Regions from separate parts of the Homo sapiens genome. Here region 2 is linked to region 1. Evidence: promoter capture Hi-C in human tissues and cell types (Jung and others, 2019). All regions are on one chromosome and are shown on one strand. The core of a region is centred on a gene start or on the middle of the fragment in contact, and the rest is flanking DNA. Distances in the headings are between cores, read along the strand shown.

Region 1 (4,595 bases), core at 1,156-3,655:
AGGAGATTGAAACCTCCTGGCTAACATGGTGAAACCCCATCTCTACTCAAAGTTAGCCGGGCATGGTGGCAGCACCTGTAGTCCCAGCTACTGGGGAGGCTGAGGCAGGAGAATGGCATGAACCCCAGAGGCGGAGCTTGCAGTGAGCCGAGATCCCGCCACAGCACTCCAGCCTGGGCGGCGACAGAGCGACACTGGTCTCCAAAAAAAAAGGTGAAATGAGAAACAAAGGTGTACAATTTAACCAGATTGTGGCAGTATAAACTAAGTATGTAAGTGTTAAGGAGAACTAACAAAAGGAAAAGAGCCTATTAGCCAGAGGAGACTTCCTGGAAGAGGTAAGTTTAAATTTCTTCATAATTTTTGTGTGTGCATGGAATCACGGAGTGATTGCTCCTAAGCAATATTTTAACTTTTATTTTCAATATGGTAAAAATTTAAAAAATTCCAAAAGGTATATAGTGATAGGTAAATTTCTCTCTCATTCCTTATTTCCTGTACCCCAGTTTTTCTTTCTGGGAAAAAAGGACTGTTACTAGTGTCTTAAGTATCTTTCTAGCAGGAAAGCAAGGGAAGGCTTTTTTTTTTTTTTTTTTTTTTTGACATGGAGTCTGGCTCTGTCACCCAGGCTGGAGAGCAGTGGCTCCATCTCGGCTCACTGCAACCTCCGCCTCCTTGGTTCAAGTGATTCTCCTGCCTCAGCCTCTCCAGTAGCTGGGATTACAGGCGTGCACCACCACACCAGGCTACTTTTTTATATTTTTGGTAGAGATGGGGTTTCACCATGTTGGGAATGGGAAGGCTTTTTTTTTTTTTTTTTTTTTTTTTTTTTGAGACGGAGTCTCGCTCTGTCGCCCAGGCTGGAGTGCAGTGGCGCAATCTCGGCTCACTGCAAGCTCCACCTCCCGGGTTCACGCCATTCTCCTGCCTCAGCCTCCCAAGCAGCTGGGACTACAGGCGCCCGCCACCCTGCCCGGCTGATTTTTGTATTTTAGTAGAGACGGGGTTTCGCTGTGTTAGCCAGGATGGTCTCGATCTCCTGACCTCGTGATCCACCCGCCTCGGACTCCCAAAGTGCTGGGATTACAGGCGTGAGCCACCGCGCCCGGCCGGGAAGGCTTTTTTGAAATGTATTTTCGCCGGGTGCGGTGGCTCACGCCGGTAATCCCAGCTCTTTGGGATGCCGTGGCAGGTGGATCACCTGAGGTCAGGAGTTCGAGACCAGCCTGACCAACATGGTGAAACCCCCGTCTCTACTAAAATAAAAAATTAGCCGGGCAGGGTGGCGGGCGCCTGTAGTCTCAGCTACTTGGTAGTCTGAGACAGGATAATCACTGAACCCGGGAGGCGGAGGTTGCAGTGAGCCGAGATCGTGCCACTGCACTCCAGCCTGGGGGACGAGAGTGAAACTCCATCTCAAAAAATAAAATAAAATGTATTTTTATTTTTTAATTTTTTTCCTCTCCCCTCAAGGGAGGATTTTTATATATAAAGCCTTGACAGGACGCCAGCATGCTGCACTTCGTCCATTTCGTGTTCTCTTCAATGTGTATTGAGTTGTGAAACTCTGAACAGGACCCTGGATCACCTTTTATAAATTGTATCAATTTTTCAATCTCCACTTTTCGTCTTCCTCCTTTTTCCGTTTCTGGGTTGAGATGACCTCCATTCATTTCTTCTCTAATTGACGGCTCTCTGGCCTCTCCATTGGAGGAGGGGAAGCGCCACAGGCTGTTCTGGGGAGAAATTGTTGAGTGTTTTCCACTTTAACCTTGCAATGGAATCAGTAAGGAGTTGGAAAATGCCCCTTCTGTTGGTCTTGGCGGCCTTTTCCAGCTGCCAGTTGTCATGGCCTCTTTGTGGGTGTTTTCTGCAGTAGAATCCTCCTTGGGGTTTCTCTGCAGTTTGAGCACTTTTGCTATTTCTTCTCTACCGAACTCACGCCTCCGCCAGTGGAGATACACGCTTTCCCTCCCTCTGGGGCTATTGCCATACATAATTCCCAGTTCTCCACCCGCCAGTTCCTCCTAGTCTGTGGGGGATTTCGGGGTGTGGAATCGCTGACGGGAGGAGTTAGCTCGGGCGGGAGCATTGTGGGCTGGGTAAGATCTGGCCAGCCGTTCGGTCCTCAGTTTGGGAAGCACCGCGGGACTAAGGCCCAGGTTTCCGCTAGGGTCTTGTGGGGAACCCCTTGGGCCGCCAGACTGGAGCGGAGAGCACAGCGCGGCCAGCTGCGTGAGCCGGGGAGCCGGCGCGCGAGTTCGGGGGTGCAGGGGCTGCTGGGGCCGCCAGGGTGGGGCGGAGGGCGCTGCGGCCGGGGTCCGTTTGCGCGGGGAGCGCCGGGACCAGGACGGCCGCCAGGGAGCGCTGCGGCCTCCAACTCGCCCGCCCCCCGGTAGGCGGGGCCGCGCTCTCCCTGCAGCCGCCACCGCAGCCGCCGCCTGGGCCGCTCCGTGTCCCCGGTGGAGCCGCCGCCGCCGCCGCCGGGAGCTCGATGCGGACGGAGCCCGGGCCGAGCCATGGGGATCCTCAGCATCACGGACCAGGTCAGCCCTCCTGCCCTTTCCCGCTTCCTCCTTCCAGGGCTCGGCGCTGCCGTCACGCGAGCCCGGGGATGTGCGGCCTAGGCTGGGCCTGAGCCCGGGGCTCCCGCAGCTCCCGCCCCGCCCCATGCCGCGCTCCCCTCAACCGAGCCGGTGTCCTTGGGGACCTGGCAACCGGCGGAGGCACCGCGGGAGCTCGCTCCAGCCAGAATCCCTAGAGTGGAGCCCCTCCACGGACGCCCCCCACTCAAACCTAGGTGCTCCCCCACCCCCACCCCCACACCGGTTCCGCTCCGGCTCCAGCCCGCTCTCAGAATGCCGGTTCTCTCTGCAGCCGCCCCTGGTCCAGGCCATCTTTAGCCGAGATGTGGAGGAAGTGCGTTCCCTACTCTCGCAGAAGGAGAACATCAATGTGCTGGTGAGTTGGGAGCAGGGAGGATGGCGAGACCGGAATCCTGGCTCCCGTGTTCTGGACCCCTCCCCACCGGTGGGGCGGCTCCGTGTCTCCTCTGCTCAGATGAGGCCGCAGTTCTTTCCATCCTGGAGTGAAAGCCTACTCTGCATTTGGGGATGGAGAGCAGGTCAGGCTTGAAGCCCAGATCACTTGGGCTGGGAATGCCCAGGAACGTTGTTCTCTTCTCAACCTCCGGAGTCTGCAGCGCCCCCACCCCTCCTGGAAAAAGGAGCCGGCTTCTCAGCCCATTGGCCCTGACTCCACCCTCCCTAGGTGCTTGCCTTTGACTCCCAATACCGGGACTTAGGACGCTGCAGAAACTATGGGAAGAGGTTGTGGGGAAGGGCCTGGAGCTCTGAGACTTGGGCTGGGGTCCTTGATAGCCCCCTTACCCCGCGCCCATACTCCCTGCTCTTTTTTGCCTTCCCAGGACCAAGAGAGGCGAACTCCATTGCATGCTGCTGCCTACGTAGGCGATGTCCCCATCCTCCAGTTGCTACTGATGTCAGGTGAAAGTGGGGAGCTGGAAGGTGTGGCACATAGGGAGCGAAGGGAGGGGAGGAGTCTTTTTTGATATTCAAGGATTGCTCTCCCCGGCTTGGTCCAGGCGAGGCTCCAGCTCCATTCAGATTTCCTGGCCTGATTACTGGCTTCCTTCATACCTCCTCCCCACCTTCCATCAAAATAGGAAATTATATCCCCACAGGTGCTAATGTCAATGCTAAGGACACACTGTGGCTGACCCCTCTTCATCGTGCTGCTGCCTCCCGAAACGAGGTATGCACCCCCACCTTCTATTACCCTTTCAAAAAGGATAAGTTGCTTAAAGGTGGGGGTTAAGGGTTAAGGAGCCTCAGTCCTCAGCCCTACAAGCTGTTCTACCCCAGGTAGTGAGGAGATCAAATCTTGGCCCCTTCCTCCTACCCCTAGAACTGGCCAGTAAGGGGGTTGAGTGCTGCCAGCTGATGTGACTCAGGAAGAGCTTAACACTGGGCTGGCAGACTGCGGGGGCCCTGCTGCCAGGCCTGAGTGACTCATCCCTCCCTGGGGGGCCACCTTGAGTCTGATCCCCCTCTGGGCACTGAGATTTCTTTTCCTTGTGATGGAGGATGGGTATAGTAATCTGTTGCATCCTTGGCCCTCAAGCAGCTTGAAAGTTGACAGCACAGGGGCCAAACATATTTCATCAGTTGGGTCCTTTATCCTATTCCCATCAGCCCTGAAGACAGGGAAAGGGGGACCTCCTCCTCAGTTCATCACTTCCCTGGCTCCAGCCACCAGGGGGAGGGGCCGAGGCCAGTGGGAATGAGGTGGGTGGTGGTTAGGAGGGGCATTTTAGCTCGGGTTTTGCAAACGAACCAGTATCTGTTTGCTTACTGAGATACTGAAAATAATTTTGGTGCCTATGAGAAGGCTAAAGAGGGTGTTCAGGGCAAGATGTAGCAAGAGCATTTAGTTTTCCTAGAAGTAGTAGGGGGTTGGGATGTGTGGATCTCCACATGTGGATTTGTTTGGGAATGGATGTATGTGTGAGTGAAGATTTTCAGGGTCTAAGTTGGCGAGTCAGGTGGCTTGAAGAAGAGCAAAGGGTCCTTGTT
Region 2 (5,152 bases), core at 1,577-4,076, 92 kb before region 1:
CAGCCTGGCCAATGTGGTGAAACCCCATCTCTACTAAAAATACAAAAATTTGCCAGGTGTGGTGGCGCATGCCTGTATTCCCAGCTACTCAGGAGGCTAAGGCAGGAAAATCACTTGAACTCGGGAGGCAGAGGTTGCAGTGAGCTGTGATCATGCCACTGTACTCCAGCCTGGGTGACAGAGCGAGACTCCGTCTCAAAAAAAAAAAAAAAAGATTAGGCATGGTGGCACACGCCTGTAGTCCCTAGCTACTCAGGAGGCTGAGGTGGGAGGATTGCTTGAGCCCAGGTGTTGGAGGCTGCAGTGAGCCATGATTATACCACTGTAGTCCAGCCTGGACAACAGAACGAGACCCTGTCTCTAAAAGTATATATGTACACATACCATAATACCCAGCTACTGAGGAGGCTGAGGCAGAAAGAGTGCTTGAGTCCAGGAGTTTGATGTCAGCCTGAGCAATATAGCAAGACCCTCACCTCTTAAAAAAAAAAAAAGTAGATTAAAAAAATACCACAATTGCTCAGGTAGATTGAAAAACAGGCATATAGTACTTATGGTACAGGACCAGCATGCATGCATGCATGCATTGATTGATTGATTGATTGATTGATTGAGACAGGGTCTCTCTCTGTCTCCCAGGCTGGAGTGCCTGGCCTTAAGTGATCTGCCCACCTTTGCTTCCCAAAGTGCTGAGATTACAGGTGTGAGCCACCATGTCAGCTGGCGAGGCTTTTTAAAAGATAGTTCCAAGTGTTACAGCTCTTTTAGGATTTGTCTAGCAGGCTTTCAGGTTTTTGCCAGAAACCACCCCCACCCCCACCCCCACCAAAAAAAAAAAAAAAAAAAAAAGATAGTTACAAATGTTTCCCAGAATAGTTGTCCCAATCGAATCTATTTTCTCATGTGTAGTGTATGGTTGTTTTCCTGTCACCACATTGCTGATTATTATTATTTTTAATTATAGAGACAGTAAAGTACAGTAGTTAAAAATGTGAGTTGGGGCTGGGTGCAGTGGCTCACACCTGTAATCCCAGCACTTTGGGAGGCCAAGGTGGGCGGATCACCTGAGGTCAGGAGTTCAAGACCAGCTTGGCCAACATGGCAAAACCCCGTCTCTACTAAAAATATATATATATAAGTTAGCCGGGCGTGGTGGCACATACCTGTAATCCCAGCTACTCGGGAGGCCAAGGCAGGAGAATCTCTTGAATCCAGGAGGTGGAGGTTGCAGTGAGCCAAGATCACACCATTGCACTCCAGCCTGGATGACAAGAGAGTGAGACTGTCTAAAAAAAAAAAACAAAGTGTGAGTTGTACAATGAGACTGCCTGGGATCACATACAAGCTTCATCCCTTACTAGTTGTATGACCTTAAGCAAGTCACTTAACCTTTCTGTGCCTCAGTTTTATCATCTGTAATGTGGGGAAAATAATAGTACCTGCCTCAGAGGGTTGTTTTGAGGATTAAATGCATTAATATGTGGAAAGGGCTTAATATAAGTTGTACATAGCATATGAAAACTGTTATGTTAAATCTATTAGCAGTTTTATATGTGAAAATAGCTTTGATTTTCATTTCTTGGATTATGAATCATGTTGAATAATCCTTTATATGCTTCCTGGATTCTTTTTTTTTCTTCCCCCCAGTCAGTTTCTGACTCTTCACATATTTACAGAGAGATCTTGGAACCTGGATGGGGGAATCCAGGAAACTCATGGATTCCTTCTTCCTGAATTTTATCACCCAGGTTCACAGCTGGAGCAAAGCTGTTGTTTCACCTGAGGCAGCTGCTGAAGGAGCTGAAGGGACTGAGTTGCCTGGTTAGCTATCAGGATGACCCTCTGACCAAAGGGGTGGACCTACGCAACGCCCAGGTCACAGAGTTGCTACAGCGTCTGCTCCACAGGTCTAGAGGCCAGGCAGGAACCCTGGGGGAAAGAAGGAACAAGGGAAGCCATTCTTACAGATACTGAGCTATATATTCTCTCCACACCTCTCTCTCCTCAGAGCCTTTGTGGTAGAAACCCAGCCCTGCATGCCCCAAACTCCCCATCGACCCCTCATCCTCAAGACTGGCAGCAAGTTCACCGTCCGAACAAGGTTGGCATTCCAGAACTCATTCCCACTTCCTTTTTCCAACCCTGCCACTGTGTATTTTCTGGCTTTACAGCTCTTCCCACTCTTGGCTTTTTCTTCTCTTTCCCTGCAATCTCCCTACCTCTTATAATCCCTCTTCTCTTTTTCAAACATCTAGTCTATCCGGAAGGTTGAGGTTGACCACTTTCCCCTATCCCCCTTCCTTCCCCCAGGCTGCTGGTGAGACTCCAGGAAGGCAATGAGTCACTGACTGTGGAAGTCTCCATTGACAGGTAAATTGGAGCAGGTGAAGGGTGGCCAGGACACGGGCTGCTGGGGTGGAGGAGATACTCACTCTTCACAACAGGGCCCTAGGGCTATCTCCTTCCTCCTTCCAATCCTACCTCACAGAAATTATAATTCATTTCTTTTGTTGAACACTTACTTTGTGACATGCAGCATGTCAGCTACTCATTTAATTGTCACACCAACCCCATGAATAAACTATTACCAGTGCACTGTACAAACAAAGATACAGGCTTAGAGAGACTGATTACATCTCTTCTCAAGGCCACATAGCTAGTGAGCTCAAGTCGGGTTTGAACCGAGGTCTGTCTGATCCCAAAGACGAAACTCCTAACTTCCATACTCTTTTGCCCAATGATTTTTTTAAATTTATTTCTTTTCAGGAATCCTCCTCAATTACAAGGGTAGGTGCTTGACAAGGACACTGCAAACATCTGTACAGTGTATGACCTGCAGAACCACATTCGGCAGCCCTGGTGGCACAAACAAGGAAGAGGGGGATTTGGGATATGGACAAAGGGAGATGGCGAGATCTGAAATGAAGTGGAACTTCTGTTTTTTTTTTTCTGCTGAGTTTTTAGAATAATTCCATTCCTTGTCTCCATGTATCTTCCTCCTGGAACAGCTTCCGGAAGTTCAACATTCTGACTTCAAACCAGAAAACTTTGACCCCCGAGAAGGGGCAGAGTCAGGGTTTGATTTGGGACTTTGGTTACCTGGTAAGAATAGTTTGTGACCTATGCTTTTATTACTATTTTTATTTTTTTGAGACGGAGTCTCACTCTGTCCCCCAGGCTGGAGTGCAGTGGTGCCATCTTGGCTCACAGCAACCTCCGCCTCCCGGGTTCAAGCAATTCTTCTGTCTCAGCCTCCTGAGTAGCTGAGACTATAGGCACACACCACCATGCCCGGCTAATTTTTGTATTTTTAGTAGAGATAGGGTTTCACCATATTGGTCGGGCTGGTCTCGAACTCCTGACCTCAGGTGATCCACCCGCCTCAGCCTCCCAAAGTGCTGGGATCACAGGCATGAGCCACCATAGCTGGCCTGCTTTTAGTCCAAAGGAACAGGGGTTGGGGGAAGTTCCCAGGGCTTGAGAGGTCTTGAAGCCAAACAGGGGTTCCAGGGACACTAGGGTGCCCACTCTGGCATTTTCTCTCCTTCCCTTCAATTCACAGACTCTGGTGGAGCAACGTTCAGGTGGTTCAGGAAAGGGCAGCAATAAGGTGAGATCTGGACAGAGGACTCGAGGCAGGGGGAGCTTGCCAAAGAGCCTTCTGATGACTATGTCTTTGGCTGTCCCAGGGGCCACTAGGTGTGACAGAGGAACTGCACATCATCAGCTTCACGGTCAAATATACCTACCAGGGTCTGAAGCAGGAGCTGAAAGTGAGTGAAAATGGAGGGCAAGGAGAGAGAAAGCAGCTTTGGAAGAAGGCATAAGAAGGGGATAAACAGAAGCCTCTTGGGGTGGGTTAGCACTCCTTTCCTCTAACAAATACCTGCAGCTAGAAACATCACATCCCTCTCTGTGACTCCTGTCTTCTCCCCAGACGGACACCCTCCCTGTGGTGATTATTTCCAACATGAACCAGCTCTCAATTGCCTGGGCTTCAGTTCTCTGGTTCAATTTGCTCAGCCCAAACCTTCAGGTAGGGGAGTGGGGCCGACAGGTCAAGGCGCGAGAGGAGGGGTGTGGAAGCTTGGTGTGATAGGTTGCTTCTGAGCCAGCCTACACTGCTCCCACCCCTGCAGAACCAGCAGTTCTTCTCCAACCCCCCCAAGGCCCCCTGGAGCTTGCTGGGCCCTGCTCTCAGTTGGCAGTTCTCCTCCTATGTTGGCCGAGGCCTCAACTCAGACCAGCTGAGCATGCTGAGAAACAAGCTGTTCGGTACAGATTTCCTTTTCTCTCAGCCTTTCCCCAGCCTTAGTCTTTTCTGTCCCTCTGTCCTATCTATCCCAGGACCCCTGGCTTCCCTCATCATCTGTCTGTGGCTATCTGTCCCACAGGGCAGAACTGTAGGACTGAGGATCCATTATTGTCCTGGGCTGACTTCACTAAGGTAACTCCCTGAATCCTGTGGAGCTGCTGGATCTAGCCCACATTCCAAATACTGGCCTTCCCACGTCCCTCCTTCCCTACACCAGAGGCAACTCCTCAGCTTTTGCTACCTTTCCATTCCTCCTCCAGCGAGAGAGCCCTCCTGGCAAGTTACCATTCTGGACATGGCTGGACAAAATTCTGGAGTTGGTACATGACCACCTGAAGGATCTCTGGAATGATGGGTAAGGCCTTGGTCACCCTTCCCTCATGGGCTTGTGCTTTCCGGGCTTGAGAGTGGAGTCTCTGCACCCTCACGTGGCAAGCAGGGAGAGAGAGCAAAGACAGGTGCAGGCCACGTCTCCTCACATTTGTTAACAATAATAAGGCCGGGTGTGGTGGCTCACACCTGTAATCCCAGCACTTTGGGAGGCCGAGGCGGGCGGATCATGAGGTCAGGAGATCGAGACCATCCTGGCTAACACGGTGAAACCCCGTCTCTACTAAAAATACAAAAAATTAGCCGGGCGTGGTGGCAGACACCTGTAGTCCCAGCTACTCAGGAGGCTGAGGCAGGAAAATGGCGTGAACCTGGGAGATGGAGCTTGCAGTGAGCCGAGATTGCGTCACTGCCCTCCAGCCTGGGTGACGAGCAAGACTCCGTCTCAAAAAAAAAAAAAAAAAAACAACCAATAATAGCCATAAACAGTGTTTGTGAAGCATCTCC

What was found. The method cuts DNA at HindIII sites, captures the fragments that hold promoters and counts their contacts. A contact is called where the count stands out against the background at its distance.
Region 2: a fragment that was not itself captured here is called in contact with the fragment with the promoter of ANKRD52 in region 1 in 6 of the 25 tissues and cell types used here (aorta, bladder, liver and 3 more).

What each region holds. Positions count from the first base shown.
Region 1 is chr12:56,256,194-56,260,788 of GRCh38, reverse strand. ANKRD52 (ankyrin repeat domain 52) reads left to right here and starts at 2,405. Exons shown (of 28, transcript NM_173595.4): 1 at 2,405-2,546; 2 at 2,878-2,961; 3 at 3,428-3,506; 4 at 3,704-3,774. The coding sequence starts at 2,520. RefSeq lists silencers at 2,147-2,206, 2,217-2,766, 2,787-2,856 and enhancers at 2,917-2,966, 3,047-3,096, 3,403-4,395. The HindIII fragment of the contact is 23,354 bases long and covers 1-4,595 here.
Region 2 is chr12:56,348,047-56,353,198 of GRCh38, reverse strand. It overlaps STAT2 (signal transducer and activator of transcription 2), which reads left to right. Exons shown (of 24, transcript NM_005419.4): 9 at 1,749-1,907; 10 at 2,009-2,101; 11 at 2,311-2,370; 12 at 2,767-2,787; 13 at 3,009-3,102; 14 at 3,563-3,610; 15 at 3,690-3,773; 16 at 3,938-4,036; 17 at 4,140-4,275; 18 at 4,395-4,447; 19 at 4,576-4,670. It also overlaps the pseudogene RNU7-40P. Among named protein-coding and RNA genes, the nearest start is that of STAT2, 9.5 kb to the left of the region's middle. The HindIII fragment of the contact is 5,164 bases long and covers 245-5,152 here.